Linked DNA regions of Homo sapiens: regions 2 and 3 are each linked to region 1. Evidence: promoter capture Hi-C in 16 types of primary human blood cells and fetal thymus (Javierre and others, 2016). All regions are on one chromosome and are shown on one strand. The core of a region is centred on a gene start or on the middle of the fragment in contact, and the rest is flanking DNA. Distances in the headings are between cores, read along the strand shown. Region 1 holds the start of ZFP64 (ZFP64 zinc finger protein). Region 2 holds the start of BCAS1 (brain enriched myelin associated protein 1). Region 3 overlaps ZNF217 (zinc finger protein 217).

Region 1 (2,953 bases), core at 318-2,817:
CAGGGAAAATCCCATTCATTATACAAGCCATATTTACTAAGCCTACTATGTGTCAGGCACCAGCCAAGTCACTGGACTACATCAGTGAAGCAAAGAGATTTTTTTAATCCCCATTTTTACAGGGACTTACTGAAAATAAGGGGGAGGAGAACACAGATAATATACAACTAAATTATATCTAAGCAGATATACTCGAGATACATAATATGTTCCATCTAACACCTTTTAAGGACAAAGCAGGCCAGGCATGGTGGCTTACACCTGTAACCCCAGCACTTTGGGAGGCTGATGGAGGATCGCTTGAGGCCAGGAATTCGAGACCAGCCTGGGCAACATCTCTACAAAAATAAAAATTAAAAAGTGAGCCAGGGTGGTGGCCCACGCCTGTAGGGGGGATTGCTTGAGCCCAGGAGTTGGAGGCTGCAATGAGCTAGGATCCGACCACTCTTCCAGCCTGAGAGACAGAGAAAGACCCCCTCTCTAAAAAAAGAAAGGGAGAAAGAGAGAGAGGCAGAGAGAGAGAAAGAAAGAAAAGAAAAGAAAAGAAAAGAAAAGAAAAGAAAAGAAAAGAAAAGAAAAGAAAAGAAAAGAAAAAGAAAAAGAAAAAAACAGGAAGGAGACAGGGAGTGGTTGGGGGAGGAGGAGGGGGCTGCAATATTAGAATGATTAGATTAGGCCAAGCATGGCCTCCCTGAGTGTGAATTTGAATGCTGACCTTCAGAAGCAGGACAGACTCTATGGGCAAATCCCTCGAGGCTGGGAGAGGTCTGAGGCTTGGGAGGGTCGGCAGAGAGACAATAGGGCTGACGCAGGAGCCCGGGGGAGACAGTAGTAGTAAGACATGAGGGACAGAGCAGAGAGGTCACTGTCCTCAGAGTGTGGACGCCGACCAACACTAGGGGCATCACCTGGGAACTTAGAAATGCTCGTTCTCACGCCTCGCCCCAGACCTACTGAAGCAGAAACGCTAGGGTGGGCCCAACAGCGTGTGTTCTAACAAGCCTTTCAGGCGACTGCGATGCACGATAAAGTTGGCAGCTCCTGGAGCAGGGGTCCCTCCGCGCTACGACCCCACCTCTTCGCGGTCCTCTCAGTCTCCCTAGCGGGGCAAGGGACCCGCCCAGCGCTTTGCTGATTTGCCCAGCGCTCACGCCCAACCTGGGTTTCTCCGGAGCTCGCCGCGCCCCGCGCACCCACCCCGCAACGGCAGCCGCACGTGGGTCTCCCCGCAAACCACCCAGGCGTCCCGGGAGCAGCGCTGCTGCACGGCCGCGCTGGGGGCCCAACGCCTGGGGTTGCAGGTGCAAAAGGCGCCCCGAGCCGGGGAGGCCAATCGCGTCCGCGGAGAACGCAGAGTGCGGGCAGGGGCGCATCCCTCGCCACCCGCGGTCGCCCAGCACGCCGGGACGCGCGTGGCCATCCAGCTCCCCGGGGGCGTTGGGGGGCTCCGCGGGCCTGGGCCTCGGGATTCGCCCGCCGCTTCCCCGGGGAGCCGCTGCTGCAAAGCCAGGTTGGGGCGCCGGGCCCGGCCAGCGCCCTCTAGGCAGCGGAAGTGCAGCTTGCTTTACATCCGTCCTCCCCGCCTCGCAGAGTTGGGAGAAGGCAGGGTGGGGGGTGTGGAAAAATAAAAGGAAAAGTCCTTGCACCATGTAGATCAGCGTCCCCCACTTTGGCATCCCGGCCGGCCGGGGACCTCCCAGTCTGCGGCCATGAACGCGAGCAGCGAGGGCGAGAGCTTCGCGGGCTCGGTGCAAAGTAAGTGCTTTTCCGGGAGCAGTGCGCGCTCCGGGGCCCAGTGCGCGCTCCGGGGCCCGGGCCCAAGCACGTCTGCGACGCAGCCAGCAGGCCCGGGGCCCCGAAATCGGGGTGACGGCTCGGAGCCGCGTCTCGGGGACCGCGGCGGGCGCGCTGTGCAGGGGGCGCCGGAGTGGGCTTGGGGTGGGGGCGCACCCGACCTGGCGCAAGACCGGGGGCGCTCTCCAGCCTTGCGAGACCCCTTGGAAGGGAACAGTGGGGGAGGGCACGCCGTTCAGACAATCGCCACCCCCTAAGGGCATTCCCGCCCCATCAGGCGGAGTTTGGGGCGGGCAGGAGAAAGGGAGGAATCTAGGGTAAACGGGGCAACACTGATGGGAAAACTTCTGCCTCAGTGGCTCAAAATTAGAGCCTGGAGATTGGGGGAATCACCAGGTCTCACGAGGTCCTGCCGGCTCATTGCAAAGCCTTTTCCTCATTAAGGGTGGAGATCTGAATGGAAAACGGGGCCGTGGTCGCTTTATTTGGGTTTGGGGTTCAGTTTTTATTTAACCGAGGAGGACATCAGCGTTTTTCAAGTCCCTGGTTTCTCCCGGTGCATTGTTTCCCAAAGTGTGGTCCAGAGACTGAGTGCAACCAGCCACCTGGGAGCGAGAGCGTGTATTTTAAAACAGCTTTCTGGGCCCCACCCATTCAATCTCGGGGGTGGGGCTGGGGATCCGCTGTCCTTCGTAGCTGCCTGGGCAACTCTGAAGCACATGAAGTTTGAGAACCCATCTACCAGGGGTTTGCAGAAAATCTGGCACATAGTAAGCTCCCAGCTTGTTAGCTGCTACTGTTAACAGTTTGGGAGACACTGGGTCCCAAACTTGGCGGTGTATTCCTTGCATTACTGTGAAAAGCACAGATTTTCCTAAACACCATCCTCCCCACCCCACCCTGTTATGACTCAGTATCTCCTAGGTGGGGCTCAGATATGTCCATGTTTAAATAGTGTACCTCAGTAAGAACCCAGCAGGTAACATGCTGGGGGACTGGCGGGGAGGGGGGACTGTGCTGGTACGAGCACCATCCCATTTAATTCTCATAACAAGCCCGTGTTTTTTCTTGGAGAAATTAAAAACAAACAAAAACCATGGATTAGAAACCTCTCCTCCCATTTTTCAGATGAGAAAACCCACGCTTAAAGTCACTGTTG
Region 2 (2,953 bases), core at 322-2,821, 1.9 Mb before region 1:
GAGATAACACCACTGCACTCCAGTCTGGATGACAAAGCAAGACTCCGTCTTAAAAAAAAAAAAAAAAAGAATGAACAAGTCCAATCAGCCAGGAGTTGCAGAGTACCTACTCTATCATAGAGGGATCCCCATCCTCGTTTTGCAGGGTGCCAGGAGTTGGGGATACAAGAATAGATGCAAAATAAACACAAAGGAGCACACAGCTGAGGGGGCTGACAGAGACTTAGGGAAGTACAGTAGCTTGCTCATAATTCCACAGCCGATCAGTAAGAATCAAGATCCGAGCCCTTGTCTGTCTCAACCCAGGGCCAGAGCTCAAGCTCCTGAGCCTCCAGGCTTGGGTCAGCACAGAGCGTGTGCATGGCAGCTGCTTAATAATTGGGTTTACTACATTCCAGATTGACATGTACAGTGCTGAGCTGGAATCGACTTTACAACCCTAATTACGGTGTGCCTGGTTGTGTATTCAGCATTTATTTAAATAGTATTTTTTTTCTTAAATGTTGATTTCTGAAAGAGGCCTTCCCCAGCTCTCTCTATTTCTCTCCCTTAGCTGCCTTGGCTTTTCTTTTATAATGAGAATCACACCCTGTAATTCTATGTTTATATTTACAGGATTCTATGTCCAATGACACTGAGTGCAAGAAGGGTAGAGACCCAGCATCTTTTACTCACCTCTTTAAACTCTGGCTTATATATATAGCCTGGTGCTTGACAAGTATTCATGATAGGGGTTAAGCTGAGTATACTGTTGAATAAAACCACAATAATTATTGGTCGCAATTCTCTTGAATGTCTTCTCCAGAGCACTAAGTAGTGTAACTTATCAAGTTTCCTTTCTTGCATTGGCTGTTAGGAAGCTCAAAGCCATATCTGCAAACCCTTCATAGCAAGTCTGTAAATCAACAAGAGCATTTATTTTTGATCCTGTTCTCATTTGATGTTCCAAATTTTGTTCTTCAATCTTCTTTTGTTACATGTTATTTCATGCTCTCATAATCTATTGTATATGTCCTTGTAAGACACTTTAAACAACATCCTTGCTTGAATTAAATAAATTGCATAGCCTGTCGAATTTCTGGCCTGCAAAGAAAAAGAATGCCCTTTCCAACATCATGGTATGTCTCCAGAGCAATAAACCACCCTCAGGTTACCTGATTTCTGGTGTCCAAACCCCTTTGGGAATAAGGTTTACATGACTAGGGGTAGTTGAGTGGATGAGAAGCTATTTCCTTCCAATTAGGTGGTTAGGTGGTGGTGGAGGTGGTGTTCTGAAGTCAGCAGACAGAACTACAAAATCTCACAGAACGTGTTTTCCCTGCTCTGACCATGACCTACGGTTACTGGGGAAGGAAACTGCTTCCCCAGGTCAACCCGGCAGCCTCAGTAGGTGAGGGGCACTGGGTAGAATACTTGGGGTGCCAGGGAGGCATTAATGCGAGAGGAGTCAGGTGCTCAGTTTTTATTGGAGTTGGGAGGGCAGCCCCACATCAGGAAGAGAACCTGTTTCTGCAGGATGGTCCGGGGAGAAGGGAGGACTCCACCCAGGCTTGTGTTTGCCCTGCTCTGTGTATTCAGCCAGCAGGCTCTGCACAAGGAAGCAAAGTGCAGGGAGCCAGGCTCCACCGACAGCCAGGCACTGGGCAGCACGCACTGGAGACCCAGGACCCTGTGCAGGAGCAGCTCCGGGTGACACGAGGGGACTGAAGATACTCCCACAGGGGCTCAGCAGGTAACTGCTTTCAGATCCTTTAGGCATGGCTGGAGGGTTTGCTGTTTGTGGTAGACGGTGTCATATAGAGGCCAGGGGTCAGACAGGGTCAAGTTTGATCCCAGCTCTGCCTTCTGTTCACTGTGTGGCCTTGGATATGTGTAAGCCTCAGTTCCACTATCTGTGAAATGGACCCAAAGATAGCACTCATCTCAAAGTTTTTAGTTTTACAAGGAGCAAATGACAATGTGGTCAGTGTTAGGCGCATAGCCACATAAATAACTCCTATTTGGTGGAACTATTGAGGGTCATTTCAAGCACAGGACATGGGGAGAAGTCACTGGATGGAGGGATAGGCTGTGTGATTTGGGGATCCGTCAGGGCAAGAATGCCCCATAGCCGAGTGGAATCTGAGCCTTCACCTCAGGCATTGCCTAAAGAAGTGGGAGGACAAGAAAAAGGACTTGTGGAGTGCCTTTTGTGAATCTTATTTAACGCTCAAGACCACCCTATGAGGCAGCTGCTGATTCAAATCCTGGCTTCAGGACCCCTGCTGTTTACATCTCCCTCTGAACCAGTTTCCTGCCTGGAAGAGTCATTGCGATTAGAATGCGGGTGCGCTGCAGCCACACCGCCAGATGCCAGCCCCAGCTCCACCCTGGGCTGGCTGGGTGCCCTGGAGCAGGTTCCCTCAGCCCTCTGGGCCTCAGTTTCCTCATCTGTAAAGTGAACCTAATAACAGTACTGAGATCAAAGGGCTGAGAGGACTCTACTGCCCGTAAATACCTGTGCACTTAGTAACTCTTAGCTGTGGTTCTTGTTTTCGCTGTTACCATCGTCTCCATTTTACAACTAGGAACATGAAGCTGGGTGAAGAGGGAGCTGCATCTGGTTCCAGGTCTCATGGAAAGGATGCTGTGGAACTGGAGTCCAGTCGGGCCTGGGATGAGGGTGCAGCCAGTGAGACTCTCACCTTGGGCACGAAATGTAAGGGATGCCAAAAAACTCAGTCATGGAGATAAACGGTATGTTAACACAACATTTTTAAAAGTCAGAATTAATGGCAAGACACCCGTGATGAACAAACTATGAACATGTTACAGAAAGATAAGATCAGGAACAGCGGTAATTTTGATTTTCACAAATTTCATGTTAAAATACTATTCATCTCCATGGCTGAGCTTTTTGGTGTCCCTTACATTGTTCCCCCGGAGTCCAGGGCCTGATCCGCCTCAGCCTCCT
Region 3 (2,953 bases), core at 172-2,671, 1.4 Mb before region 1:
AGCTACTTGGAAGGCTGAGGCAGGAGAATCGCTTGAACCTGGGAGGTAGAGGTTGCAGTGAGCCAAGATCGTGCCGCTGCACTCCAGCCTGGGCGACAGAGTGAGACTGTCTCAAAAACAACAACAACAAATAGAACCCATTGCATTTCTAGGTCAGTTTGGTTCTATGTATTACGCTTTTTTAAAGAAAGAATTTTCTAAACTGTATTCAGTTTTGATCTTAATCATTTAAAAAATGTTGTTTTCCTTAGGTCTTGGTGGATGTCAGTGCTTACTCCCCATGAAATTAAATTTTACTTCATCCTTTGAGAAGCGAATGGTGAAAGCTACTGAAATAAGCTGTGATTGTACTGTACATAAAACATATGAGGAATCTGCAAGGAACACTACAGTTGTGTAAAGTTGTTCTGTTAACTTTTGTACCAAATAGCAATACAAACTAGTTGGAACAGTTGGAACTTACATACATGGGGACTGGAAATCTCTATTTTGTCCCTGAATAATATTTTTCTTAGAATTGACCAAATAAGAAGTGGAATTTTTGCATACTTGAGCGCTGCTGAAAAGAAATCATTTGGGTTGGGTGGGGCGGGATGGGGGAAAAGTATATAATGCTTGCACCTCAGGTAAAAATCTGTAAATATCTAAGTTGTAAACCTGCTTGTTCAAATACTGTGTGTATTCCTTTTCTCTAATGCAGCTCATCACTTGGAGCAGTTTCTGCTATTGTGCTCTTTCATTTAAAATGTATGTTTTTTTTTTTTTAAACTGTCAATGATTTTGTATTATGTTGAATCCACCCAAATCTATTGTTGTCTTAAAATTGTTAATGGAAGTATTGACCCTCTATGATATGTGCTGCAGATATCGAGGTCAGCCATTCGGAAGCTGGCAGCATTTTATCGCAACTTTGAGCATCTCAGATGGGGAAGGCACCTTCTTCCTCGCCTCTCCAGATTGTCCTGGAACCTCCAGGATCCTTGACTGAGGGCGTTGGGATGGCTTGTAGGATTTTTAAGAGAGTGTGTCTACAGACAAGCATTTTCTCTGTAGAGCAGCCACACGTTGTATAAACATAAACTGTATGTGCAGTTATTTAAATTTGTTTCTGTCAAATTAATCATTTTTGTTGGACGATTCAGTGGCGGGGGGGTTTTGCCTAAATTAGTATATAAAAACAAAAATGCTAAATTATATCTGTGAATTGCAGGTATTGGGGAACAGTTTTAAGGGAAATTTTGGGGGGAACATTTTAGGTTTGTATTTGGTAGTCTTAATGTATCTGGCATTTGGGTGAACTGTGGACATACTAGAGTTGATTATAGACACATTGATTTTGAATAAGGAACTGCTGGCCGAGCCCGCTGGGAGTCTAGAAAGAGAAAATCTGTTTCTAGACCTCAGTTATTTTCCCATTTTTGGTTGTTTTGAAGCAGTAACATTTTTCTCAGTGCACATGCAATTTGGGTTTTAGAGAAGATGGCCACCAGCTGGCTTCCTAGATATTTTAAACTTTTGTTCTTTAATATGCTGTCCATGGCTGAGTTTATTAGTACATGGGCTTAGTGACCACAAAATATTTTATTAAGAAACTGTTTCAAAAATAAATTTGCACTGTTCATTTTTCTGGCCTCGCTGTTCTCCATAGAGCAAGGGTAATCCTAGAAAAAATTTTTTTTTTTTAAATTATGCAACGTAAGATGTCCTCCTTGATAGAAGTCTTAGCTCCTGTGTTACAAGGGAGAACTCATTTGAGATCAGTCTGTTGGCATTGCAATGAAGTGCTTTGTATCAGGAAAGTGTACACTATTGACCTTTTTTCCTGTTCACAAGCTGAGCCATATGTACATAATCTAGATTTTGTTTTCATAGTTTTGCACTTTTATAGCCTATTTTTGAAGATTAACACATTTGCAAGATGATTGACTCAATCTTTGCCTAATCCAATGAGTGTTACAGAGAGCTTGCTGTGACTAGAACCATAAATCTTAAAGGGGGTATGTGATAATAGAGGGCTGGAATTTAAACCTGTATTTAAAAAAAAGAATCACCAAATCTATTTGAAAACAAGTCGATTTGTATTATGCTGGAATTTTTTGGGCTTTCAGATTTCTCTTTTTAACCACATTTCTGAATGTATAAAAATACCAATTATTTTCCTACAGCCCTTTGTACTTCAAAATATGTTTTTGTGTCCATCAGTATTAACTATTGGTATACTACTGGTTTTATATTTTTTTTTCTTTGAGACAACAGTACATATAATAGAGGTACAATTCGTTGGATTTTTGTTTATGTATTTATTTCATTCCAGTTTGATTTATTTTAATTGTTGATACTTAAGTTGTCGAACAGTAGACATTACTTGTTTTATTTATGATATATTTCAGCTTAAAGTTATGTTATTATATGTGGAAGTGTAAATATAGATTTGGTGTTTTGCAATCTTGAGTTTTAGTGTTTATTGTGTTTCTGGTTTCTGATTTTGTTTTATTTAACTTTTTAGTTTTCTTTCTTTTTTTTTTTTTTGAGATGTGCTCCTGCTCTGTCACTCAGGCTGGAGTGCAGTGGTGCAATCACAGCTCACTGCAGCCTTGAACCCCTGGGCTCAACTGATCCTCCAGCTCTCGGCCTCCCGAGTATCGAGCCATCATGCCTGGCTTATAAACACAATTTTAAGGCCAGCACGTGGCTCACGCCTGTAATCCCAGCCCTTTGGAAGGCCAAGGCGGGTGGATCACTTGAAACCAAGAGTTTGAGACCAGCCTGGCCAACATGGCGAAACCCCGTCTTTACTAAAAATACAAAAATTAGCTGAGTGTGGTGGTGCACACCTGTGGCCCCAGCTACTCAAGAGGCTAAGGCATGAGAAATCACTTGAACCCGGGAGGCAAAGGTTGCAGTGAGCTGAGATTGCGCCAGTGCACTCCAGCCTGGGCAACAGAGCGAGACT

What was found. Contacts are between HindIII fragments. The CHiCAGO score rates a contact against its expected background, and 5 or more counts as called.
Region 2: the fragment with the promoter of BCAS1 here is called in contact with the fragment with the promoter of ZFP64 in region 1 in 1 of 17 cell types (total CD8 T cells); the score reaches 5.5 in total CD8 T cells.
Region 3: a contact is called between a fragment that was not itself captured here and the fragment with the promoter of ZFP64 in region 1, in 1 of 17 cell types (total CD4 T cells). The highest score is 6.4, in total CD4 T cells.

The regions. Positions count from the first base shown.
Region 1 is chr20:52,190,393-52,193,345 of GRCh38, reverse strand. ZFP64 (ZFP64 zinc finger protein) reads left to right here and starts at 1,567. Exons shown (of 6, transcript NM_018197.3): 1 at 1,567-1,755. The coding sequence starts at 1,710. RefSeq lists enhancers at 686-815, 1,856-2,712 and silencers at 1,226-1,495, 1,856-2,095. The HindIII fragment of the contact is 28,170 bases long and covers 1-2,953 here.
Region 2 is chr20:54,069,212-54,072,164 of GRCh38, reverse strand. BCAS1 (brain enriched myelin associated protein 1) reads left to right here and starts at 1,571. Exons shown (of 13, transcript NM_001366298.2): 1 at 1,571-1,732. RefSeq lists an enhancer at 1,978-2,852. The HindIII fragment of the contact is 13,812 bases long and covers 1-2,953 here.
Region 3 is chr20:53,566,563-53,569,515 of GRCh38, reverse strand. It overlaps ZNF217 (zinc finger protein 217), which reads left to right. Exons shown (of 6, transcript NM_006526.3): 6 at 252-2,445. The region is part of intron 3 of ZNF217-AS1 (ZNF217 antisense RNA 1); the gene reads right to left. Among named protein-coding and RNA genes, the nearest start is that of ZNF217-AS1, 15 kb to the right of the region's middle. The HindIII fragment of the contact is 4,272 bases long and covers 1-2,953 here.